Regions from separate parts of the Homo sapiens genome. Here all the other regions are linked to region 2. The links are contacts of gene promoters, found by promoter capture Hi-C in blood cells and fetal thymus (Javierre and others, 2016). All regions are on one chromosome and are shown on one strand. The core of a region is centred on a gene start or on the middle of the fragment in contact, and the rest is flanking DNA. Distances in the headings are between cores, read along the strand shown.

What was found. Contacts are between HindIII fragments. The CHiCAGO score rates a contact against its expected background, and 5 or more counts as called.
Region 1: a contact is called between a fragment that was not itself captured here and the fragment with the promoter of PLAG1 in region 2, in 1 of 17 cell types (activated CD4 T cells). The highest score is 5.4, in activated CD4 T cells.
Region 3: a fragment that was not itself captured here is called in contact with the fragment with the promoter of PLAG1 in region 2 in 4 of 17 cell types (total CD4 T cells, naive CD8 T cells, naive CD4 T cells and 1 more); the score reaches 10.0 in total CD4 T cells.

What each region holds. Positions count from the first base shown.
Region 1 is chr8:51,968,489-51,971,782 of GRCh38, reverse strand. No RefSeq gene overlaps it. Among named protein-coding and RNA genes, the nearest start is that of PCMTD1-DT, 71 kb to the right of the region's middle. The HindIII fragment of the contact is 2,667 bases long and covers 135-2,801 here.
Region 2 is chr8:56,209,948-56,213,116 of GRCh38, reverse strand. PLAG1 (PLAG1 zinc finger) reads left to right here and starts at 1,844. Exons shown (of 5, transcript NM_002655.3): 1 at 1,844-1,996. It overlaps CHCHD7 (coiled-coil-helix-coiled-coil-helix domain containing 7), which reads right to left and starts at 1,328. Exons shown (of 4, transcript NM_001011671.3): 1 at 1,280-1,328. RefSeq lists an enhancer at 1,150-1,219 and silencers at 1,232-1,457, 1,300-1,859. The HindIII fragment of the contact is 9,849 bases long and covers 1-3,169 here.
Region 3 is chr8:52,719,047-52,722,136 of GRCh38, reverse strand. No RefSeq gene overlaps it. Among named protein-coding and RNA genes, the nearest start is that of RB1CC1, 6.2 kb to the right of the region's middle. The HindIII fragment of the contact is 4,259 bases long and covers 1-3,090 here.

The sequences.
Region 1 (3,294 bases), core at 219-2,718, 4.2 Mb after region 2:
AAAATTGTAGAAGATAACATTGGAAAAACTCATAAAGACATCAGCATAGGCAAAGAATTCATGACTTAACACCCCAAAAGCAAATGCAACAAAAACAAAAATAAATAAATAGGATATGATTAAATTAAAAAGCTTCTGCACAACAAAATAAATAATCATCAGAGTAAACAGACAAACCATAGGATGGGAGAAAATATTTGCAAACTATGCATCTGACAAAGAACTAGTATCCAGAAGCTACAAGGAACTCAAACAAGTCGGCAAGAAAAAAGGCAAATAATCCCATCAAAAAAAAGGGAAATAACATGAACAAACATTTCTCAAAAGATACACAATCAGTGCCTCTACGGTGGCAATGTAAAAAAGAAGAAGAAGATATACAAATGGCCAAAAAACATCTGAAAAAAATGCTCAACATCACTAATCATCAGGGAAATGTAAAGTAAAACCACAATTAGATGCCAGCTTACCCCTGGGAGAATGGCCATTAGTAAAAAGTCAAAAAACAATAGATGTTGGTGTGGATGTGGTGTAAAGTGATCGTTTATACACTGCTTGTAGGAATGTAATTAGTACAACTTTATGGAAACAGTATGGAGATTCCTTAAAGAACTAAATGTAGTTCAACCATTTGATCCAGCAATGCCACCTTTGGGTCTCTACACAAAGGAAAAGAAGTCATTATATGAAAAAGATACAGGCACATATATGTTTCTTGCAGCCCAATTCACAATTGCAAAGATATGAAACCAACCTAAGTGCTCATCAACCAATGAGTGAATAAAGAAAATATGGTATATATGCACCATGGAATACCACTCAGCCATAAAAAGGAATGAAATAATGTCTTTTGCAGCAACTTGGATGGAGCTGAAAGTCACTATTCTAAGTGAAGAAACTCAGGAATGGAAAACCAAACACCGTATGTTCTCACTTACAAGTGGGAACTGAGCTATGAATATGCAAAGGCATACAGAGTGATATAATAAACTTTGTAGACTCAGAAGTGGAAGGGGGAAGGAAGGATGCAAGATAAAAAACTACATATTGGGTACATTGTACTCTATTCCAGTGACAGTGCACTAAAGCCTCAGAATTTAGCACTATATAATTCATCCATGTGACCAAAAGCCACTTGTACTCCAAAATACAGGGGGGCACAGGACACGGTGTTCCAGGTGTCCATGTAGCAGTCTGTTCACATGAGGATGCACTTCTCCTTGAAATTGAAATAAATGATAATAATAAAATAAAACAAGGGTTCTCTGCCCAGGACACGAAGATGACCTGGGCACACCAGGGGAGGAACCACCTACCCTCAGGCCTGAAGGAGGTGCCACTGGGCTGCCAGCACTTTAGGAAGGAACCAGACCCAAGCCACACTCACTGGCAGGGGGTAAGGGACAGGGGGCAGGGTGGGGGCCAGGAGCAACACAGTCCCATCTGTCCAGGCACGGTGCCATCCCCATAAGCAATGGGCAGTCAGTGCACACATGTTGGCCCCCACCTCATAATGCACATACATGGAAATAGAAATGGTGTGGGGCGGCCGGAGGGTGGCCCTCCGGCTAGTGTCATGTCTCCTGATCACATGTTGGCTTGTTCTCGCTGAAGCCAGGAGTTGTGGGCACAAGACACGGTGTTCCAGGTGTCCATGTAGCAGTCTATTCACATGAGGATGCACTTCTGCTTGAAATTGTCCTGGGAGGCCCCAACCCACCTTCCCAATGTGCTTCCAGAAGCACCTTTCTGCAGGTGCCATGCAATCTGCACCTTCACTTGCTCCACAACGAGCCCTGGGTCAAGCCTTCTGCTGCTTGAACCCCTGAAATCCAAGCAGAAGCTGCCCTCCATAGCTCTGCAAAGTCAACCAGACTGAGGCTGCCTGCGCCCACCTGATCTTTTTACTGTTTCCATACTTTTGCCTTTCCCAGAATGTTACATGGTTGGGGCCATACAGTATACAGTCTTCTCACACTGGCTTCTTTCACTGAGTAATATGGGTTTAAAGTTCTTCCATGTCTTTTCTTGGCTTAATGGCTCATTTTCTTTTTATTATTGAGTAATATGCCATTATATGGATGTACCATACTTTGTTTATCCATTTACCTAATGAAGGATATATTGTTTGATTCCAGTATTTTGCAATTATGAATATAAACATTTGTGTACAAGTTGTGTGAGTAGACATAAAGCTGTAAACAGTAGACACTGAGGACTCCAATGAGGAGGAAGGAGAGGGGAACAAGGGTTGAAAAACTACCTATTGGGTATTGTGTTCATGATTTGGGTGACAGGTTCAGTAGAAGCCCAAACCTCAGCATTACACAATATATCCATATAAAAATCCACATATATACCCCCTGAATCAAAAATTTTTTAAAAAAATGCCATGGAGGGGGGAGTAAATTATGAACATAAGTTTTAAACTCATTTGGGGAAATAGGAACATAATTGTTGAATTCCATGGTTAGATTACGTTTTGCTTTGTAAGAAACTACCAAACTGTCTGCCAAGGTGGCTGTACCATTTTGCATTCCCACTAGTGAAGAACGAGAGTTCCTGTTGCTCCACATTCTTGCAGTACTTGGTATGGTCAGATGTTTGGATTTTAGCAATTTTAGTATGTGTGTCATAATGTCACTATTGTTTTAATTTGCAATTCTCTAACGGCATATGATGTTGAGTATTGTTTTCTATGCTTATTTGCCATCTGTGTACATTCTTTGATGAGGTTTTCTGTTCAGATTTTTTTTTTGCCTATTTTTAAATTGAGTTGTTTCCTTCTTTATGGTCAAGCTTAAGGGTTCTTTGAGCTGGGCACGCTGGATCACTCCTGTAATCCCAACACTTTGGGAGGCTGAAACAGGTGGACCACTTGAGCCCAGAAATTAAAGACCAGCCTGGGCAACATAGTGAGACTCCATCTCTACAAAAACTACAAAAAAAAATTAGCTGTAGTCCCAGTTACTTGGAAGGATCACTTGAGCCCAGGAGGCAGAGGTTACACTGAACCAAGATTGTGCCACTGCACTCCAGGCTGGGCAACAGAGTGAGAACCTGTCTCAAAAAAAAGGTGGGGGTTTATTTGTATATTTTGGTTAAAAGTTCTTTATCAGATATGTGTTCCATAAACACTGTCACCCACTCTGAAGCTTGTCTTTTCATTCTTTTAACAGTATTTTTCACAAACCTGACATTTTAAATTTTAACGAAACCCAATTTATCAATTTTTTTCCTTCATGGATAGTGCTTTTGCTGTTGCATCTAGTAAGTCATCTCCCACCTAGATTT
Region 2 (3,169 bases), core at 595-3,094:
AAGAGAGATGATGATAGTAAATAAATTCACAGCTTTCTTTTTTACACCTATCCTATGATGTGAGAACACAGAACTCTTCATACACCTTAGATTTAATAATCTCAACAAGGATCAGACAACCTTGCATTAAATTTAAGTTTCGTGCCTTACATGAAAGTATCCTACTCTATATTTTATTGTCAGTCAGAAATTCTTCAAAAATAATACCTAGGTAACATCACATATACCCAGTTCGAGTTTGGTGCATGAGTTTCTTCACATTTCATTTCCTTTTCCTTCCGGATTCTAAATACAAGGCACTCTAAGTTTGGATTTCCGAAAGTCCCCTCCTTTGCATGAGTTCCTCGTGTATTAACTGGAATTGAAGAGGAAATGTCAATTTACAGTGAGGAGCGGGGCTGAATTACAACATCGAGTGCTCCGCTAAAGGGGCCTTGTCTATTACTTTTTGAATGTACTAAATAAATGTTACAAGGCTCTACTACTTGCAGAGCATAACCAGAAAGAAAAACCAAGCAAAGATATGAAGGAGGGGCCACAAAACCATAGCACATTCAGGGGATAACTCTAAAATCCACTCCAAAGGGCAAACTGCTTAATAAAGCAGTTCCTGATTTCCCATCCAGTGGTTCACGTCCCCCCTCTCTAAGTAGCTTTGAAAGGGCAGGGGGAAGGAAACGTTTCTGAACACGTTCATGCCCACACGCCCCGTGGTCGGAGCCCAGGCAGGGTCCGCGGCTCTGCTAAACCCGGAAGCTGCACACGCCGTGCCGTTAACCCACTGCCAGGTGCAAAGTGGAAGGGGGCAAGAAGTCAAGGGTGGCCTGCCGGAGGTGGGCGCGCAGGGCAAGGAGAAACGAAGGGCGAACCCGAGGCCTCGCCGCCTTCCGCGGTGTAGCCCGTCAGCATCTGATCCTGGACGGCGCGCACAGGTGAACACACCTTGCTGTGCCGAGACCATGCCGAGAGAGACAAGGGGCGAGGAAAACGCAGGGAACTGGGGGTGGGGCCGGTAACTGCGCTTCAGAGGCTACACAGGAGAGTGGAAGAAGAGCTGGGGTTGCCCGGACTAGGCAGAGGTCATCTTCCTCGCCCCCGGAGCGAACAGACCCGTGTGGCGGGAGGAAGAGCAACGGGAAGAGGTCCGCGCTGCGGCGAAGCCTGGCGGGAGCGCCTCCGCGCCGCAGAAGTGCATTCGGGCCCCGCTACGGCCCAAGGGCACCCCTCTCTCCCCGCTTTTCTGCGGCCGCTTCGGAGGTAGGGCGGGGGAACCACTCACCTCCGGCCTCCGCTTCGCCAGCACCCAGGCCGTCTCCAGCTCCAAACACGTCAATGGCTCACGCAGCAGGACCTTAAGTAGCGCGCATCCCAACTTGCTGCCCCCGCTCCCCGGCGGCAGCCCGCCCAATCGGCGCGCGCCGCCGCCAGACTGACAGCCGCGCGGGGCCCTGGGCCGCAGGGGCGGTCGGGCCTCGCCCCGCCCCCGCCTGGCGAAAGGAGGGCCGAGGCGGGAGGAGTGGGCGGGGCGGTGAGCGCGACCCCGCCCCCTCTTCCCCCGCCCCACCGCGCCCCCCAGCCGCGGCCCGTCTCTTAACACTTCGGCTTGACGGGCGGCGTCGCGGCCCAATGGGCGGGCCAACTCCCGCCAGCGGCGGCTCCGAGTGGCCAGCTCTCGGGCGGAGCGCGCGCGGGGGGCGGGCGCAGCGGCGGGCGGGGTTTGGGGGCGGGCCGACGGGAGGCGGGGGCGGTGGCCGAACAGGCAGGGGGAGGCAGCGGTGGGCGCGACGTCGGCGGCGGCGGCGGCGGCGGCGGCGGCAGCTGCAAGTTGGGCTGCAGGGGCAGCGCATACACTACAATGGCTGCTGGAAAGAGGCGTAAGGAAACAATTTCCAGGCCCGCCGCGTCCAGCCCGAAATATGAGAAAAAAATTATTAGAAATTCCGCGGGCGGTGTAGAGGCGGCGGACGGGCCGGAGGGAGGATGTTAAAGCCCCGCGGTGAGTTCTCCGGGGGTCCGGGGCGGCGGCGAGGCGTTTAGCGGGAGAAATATCAGGGTTATTTAAATTATGGGACTAGCCGAGGGGGCAGAGGAGCAGCGGCGGCGGCAGGAGGAGGAAAAGTTTGTGCTACTCTCAGCCCCTGCTCAGGACCCCAGAGAGAAAAATAATAATAAAAAATAAAATAAAATAATTACGCGGGGCTGCGAGGACTCCCGAAGTCGCTTCTGACAGGGCAGGGGGCGATGCGGCTGGGGACCCGAAGGTGAGGTCGGTGGGAAAAAAAAAAAAACCTTTATTCAGGGTCTGGAAAGTTTGAAAAGTTTTCCTCCTCCTCCTCCTCCTCCTCCTCTCTGGTGCTGTGAATATTGTGACAGCGGCAGCGGCAGCAGCGAGAGCGGAAGACATTAGAGACCCGAAAAATAAGGGAAAAATTAATATAAATTCAGTTTTGAGAGTAAACTCTCCGCATTTTCCACCAAAACATCCCGGGGGAAGGTCGCTTCCCAAAGGGCCTGGCGGAAACCCGCAGTCGGCAATATTTGGGGGGCACTTTGAGTGACTTGGGGTAACTTTGCCCCTTTTTCAAAAGAGGTTTTTCTTTTCTGGAGAAATGAATTTGTTTTTGCCCTTTCCTCAGGTGGGCAAGCCGGGGTCGGGGTGCGGGGTCTGCAGGGAGGTGTGAGCCCGGGGTGTGTGGCTGCGAGGGGGGGTAGGGGGAGGGGGTGCTAAATGAAAGCAGGAGATCGGCACAGAGCAGGGACAGCTTGTTGTCAGTATCATAAACAACCAAAATGGAGGGAGAACTCAGGCATATAACCAAATAAAAATTTTTAAAAAATCGCAAAAAATCCCTAAAAATCCGGGATGCTCCCCCTTTTCTCGCTAAAGGTAAAAGTATGTACCGCCTTTCCCCTGAAGTCCATTTTGACTTTGCAGGGACCAAGGAGTTAATATTTATTTATTTTTTAAAACTTTCGAAGGGCAAAAGCCTTTTATAACTCAACCGACAATGAGAAAACGTGAAAATCCGATGCAAGAGAAGCAGGGGGAGCGAGGGGGGAGGTGGTAGTGCAGAAACTGCTAAACTTATTGGTAATGTGGACTGATCTCAGATAAGATAAACACTATATTTGCTATTTTATAACTCTCTTTTAATGATCTTTGCGGGGT
Region 3 (3,090 bases), core at 413-2,912, 3.5 Mb after region 2:
CAGGATGGAGTACAGTGGTGTGGTCATGGTTCACTGTAGCTTTAAACTCCTTGGCTCGAGCAATCCTCCCACCTCAGCCTCCCAAGTAGCTGAGACTAGAGGAGTGCACCACCACACAGAGCTATATTTTTATTTTATTTTTATTTTTATTTTTTTTATTCTCTCTGTCGCCCAGGCTGGAGTGCAGTGGTGCGATCTCGGCTCACTGCAAGCTCCGCCTCCTAGGTTCACGCCATCCTCCTGCCTCAGCCTCCCGAGCACGCCCGGCTAACTTATTTTTGTACTTTTAGTAGAGACAGGGTTTCACCATGTTAGCCAGGATGGTCTCGATCTCCTGACCTCGTGATCCACCCGCCTCGGCCTCCCAAAGTGCTGGGATTACAGGCGTGAGCCACCGCGCCTGGTCTATATTTTTACTTTTATTTTTGTAGAGACAGGGTTTCGCTATGTTGTCCAAGCTGGTCTCAAACTCCTGGCCTCAAGTGATTCTCCTACCTCAGCCTACCAGAGTGCTGAGATTACAGGTGTGAGCCACCATGCCAGGCCTGTTTTAAATATTCTTCTAAAATATAATATTAATGGCTGCATAGTATTTCATTATATAGATGTACCACGTTTTCCCTGAATTCTGAGAAAGGGGTTGATTTTGTCCCTCTGGGAACATTACAAAATGTCCAGAGGCATTTTTGATTGTCATAACTGGGGTGCTACTGGCATCTAGTGGGCAGAAGCCAAGGAGGTTCAACATCCTAAAATGTACAGGACAGCCCCTTATAACAAAGAATTAACTGGTAGGTATGAGATTGAGAAACTCTGTAACCTATTGCTAGACATTTTTTCTTTTTTTGTTTTTGAGACAGGGTCTCACCCTGTTGCCCAGGCTGGAATGCAGCAGTGCAATCTTAGCTCACTGCAACCTCTGCCTCCCAGGCTCAAGCAATCTTCCCACCTCAGCTTCCCAAGTGGCTGGAACTACAGGCGTATGCCACCACATGCCTGGCTAATTTTTTTTTTTTTTTGTATTCTTGGTAGAGATGGGGTTTTGCCACATTGTCCAGGCAGGTCTAGAACTTCTGAACTCAGGGCTATCCACCTGCCTTGGCCTCCCCAAGTGCTGGGATTACTGGTGTAAGCTGGGAGCCACCTTGCTGAGCCAATTTTTTTTAACCCCTGCAGGACCAGCACCAAATTAAGGGGGAGCATAGGCTATGCATAGGATATATAGGATATAGCCCGTACAATTGGATTACCTGGGTTCAAATCCTGGCCTTGACAGTTACTAATTTAAGAACACTAACTAGAAGGAAGTACATTGAATTAGCAACTTAACCACTCCATGCCTTATTGCCCCATCTGTAAAATCAAAGAAAATTTACAGAAACTGCATAGGGCTGCTAAGACAACTAAACAGGTTGATAAATTTAAAACCCATGTCTGGCATCTAAGATACACCCATAAGTGTTTCATGAGCTCCGTTAGGTCATGCTTTTTAAAAAATACATTTATTGACCAGCCGCGGTGGCTCACGCCTGTAATCCCAGCACTTTGGGAGGCCAAGGAGGGCAGATCACCTGAGGTCAGGAGTTCGAGACCAGCCTGACCAACATGGAGAAACCCCGTCTCTACTAAAAATACAAAATTAGCCAGGTGTGGTGGTGCATGCCTGTAATCCCAGCTACTCGGGAGGCTGAGGCAGGAAAATCACTTGAACCCGGGAGGCAGAGGTTGCAGTGAGCTGAGATTGCGCCATTGCACTCCAGCCTCCGCAACGAGAGTGAAACTCCCATCTCAAAAAAAAAAAAAAAGAAGCATTTATTTATAAACACTACTGAGGCACTGACAGAAATAGGAAGGCACTGACAGAAAAATCAGGAACAAAGAATCTCAAGGTTTGGGGCCTAAGTCATTGAATCTAATATCTCTGAAACCATTGGATGATAGTAAAATCGATGTAATGTGTAAGACTAGCAAGAGGAAAAAAAAACAATAGAAGGTATCAGAGTATATCACAAGCAGCAAGTACTTTTTCCTGTGTATGTATACCAGGTCACAATGTGAAACTGTATTTCTTAATGTGGATCACAGTAAAAGTTAGAAAGTCACCACCTGAAGTCCAACTACCACTTGACATTTGAATCAGTTCTGTATCTGTGTCTACATGACTGATTAACTTCTGCCTTAAGGCATTTTATAAACAGTGCCAGCTCTATTTTTGGACACTTTGCTAGGCAGCTCTTCAAAATAATGAAAGACAAGAACCTAATAAAACATGATGCAAAAAGATATCTCTTTCAATCTGAAAAATGACTACAAATGTTTTGTCTTAATCTATTGGTTTAAATCTTTCAGGAAATTAAGCATTCTAGAAGTGTTTTCTTGACTATGTTGCTGCAGCATTGGAAACAGTGTTGCTTATGAGCTCATCAAGTCATCACTAGCTTTGAAGATGGTCATTCCTAAGTTAGCCATCATCATTATTAGTATGTTTGAGTACCCACAAACCAGCTGAGAAGGGCAGCTTTCAGGTCTATAAGCAGTACTGAAAACATTAACTTAATCATCATAGTGCCAGCAGCCTCTAAATAGTACATAATCATATACACCAAATTAGTTATGGTTTTAAAAACAAAGTCCAAAACGTACATCTTTTTAACCCTTTTAAAAATGAACAATAATTGTGCCTCATACTTTGAATAAAGCCAAATTATGTGAATTGTGGTTGCTGGTTGTTTGAACATTGCCTAAAAGAAAATTAGGGTAATGACACTAAGTTGTTTGAGAAATATTTAATACATGTGCTGAATGCCTCAGGCAGAGTTGACAAAATTAAGATGTTTACCATGATCTTCCCAATAAACTGAATGTACTTTGGTAAAGAATTAATATCATATAAATTTGTTACTGCAATTATATTTATTTTTTTTTTCTTTTTTTGAGACGGAGTTTCGCTCTTGTTGCCCAGGCTGGAATGCAATGGTGCGATCTCGGCTCACTGCGACCTCCGCCTCCTGGGTTCAAGTGATTCTCCTGTCTCAGCCTACTGAGTATCTGGGATTACAGGCATGCGCCACTGGCTAATGTTGTATTTTT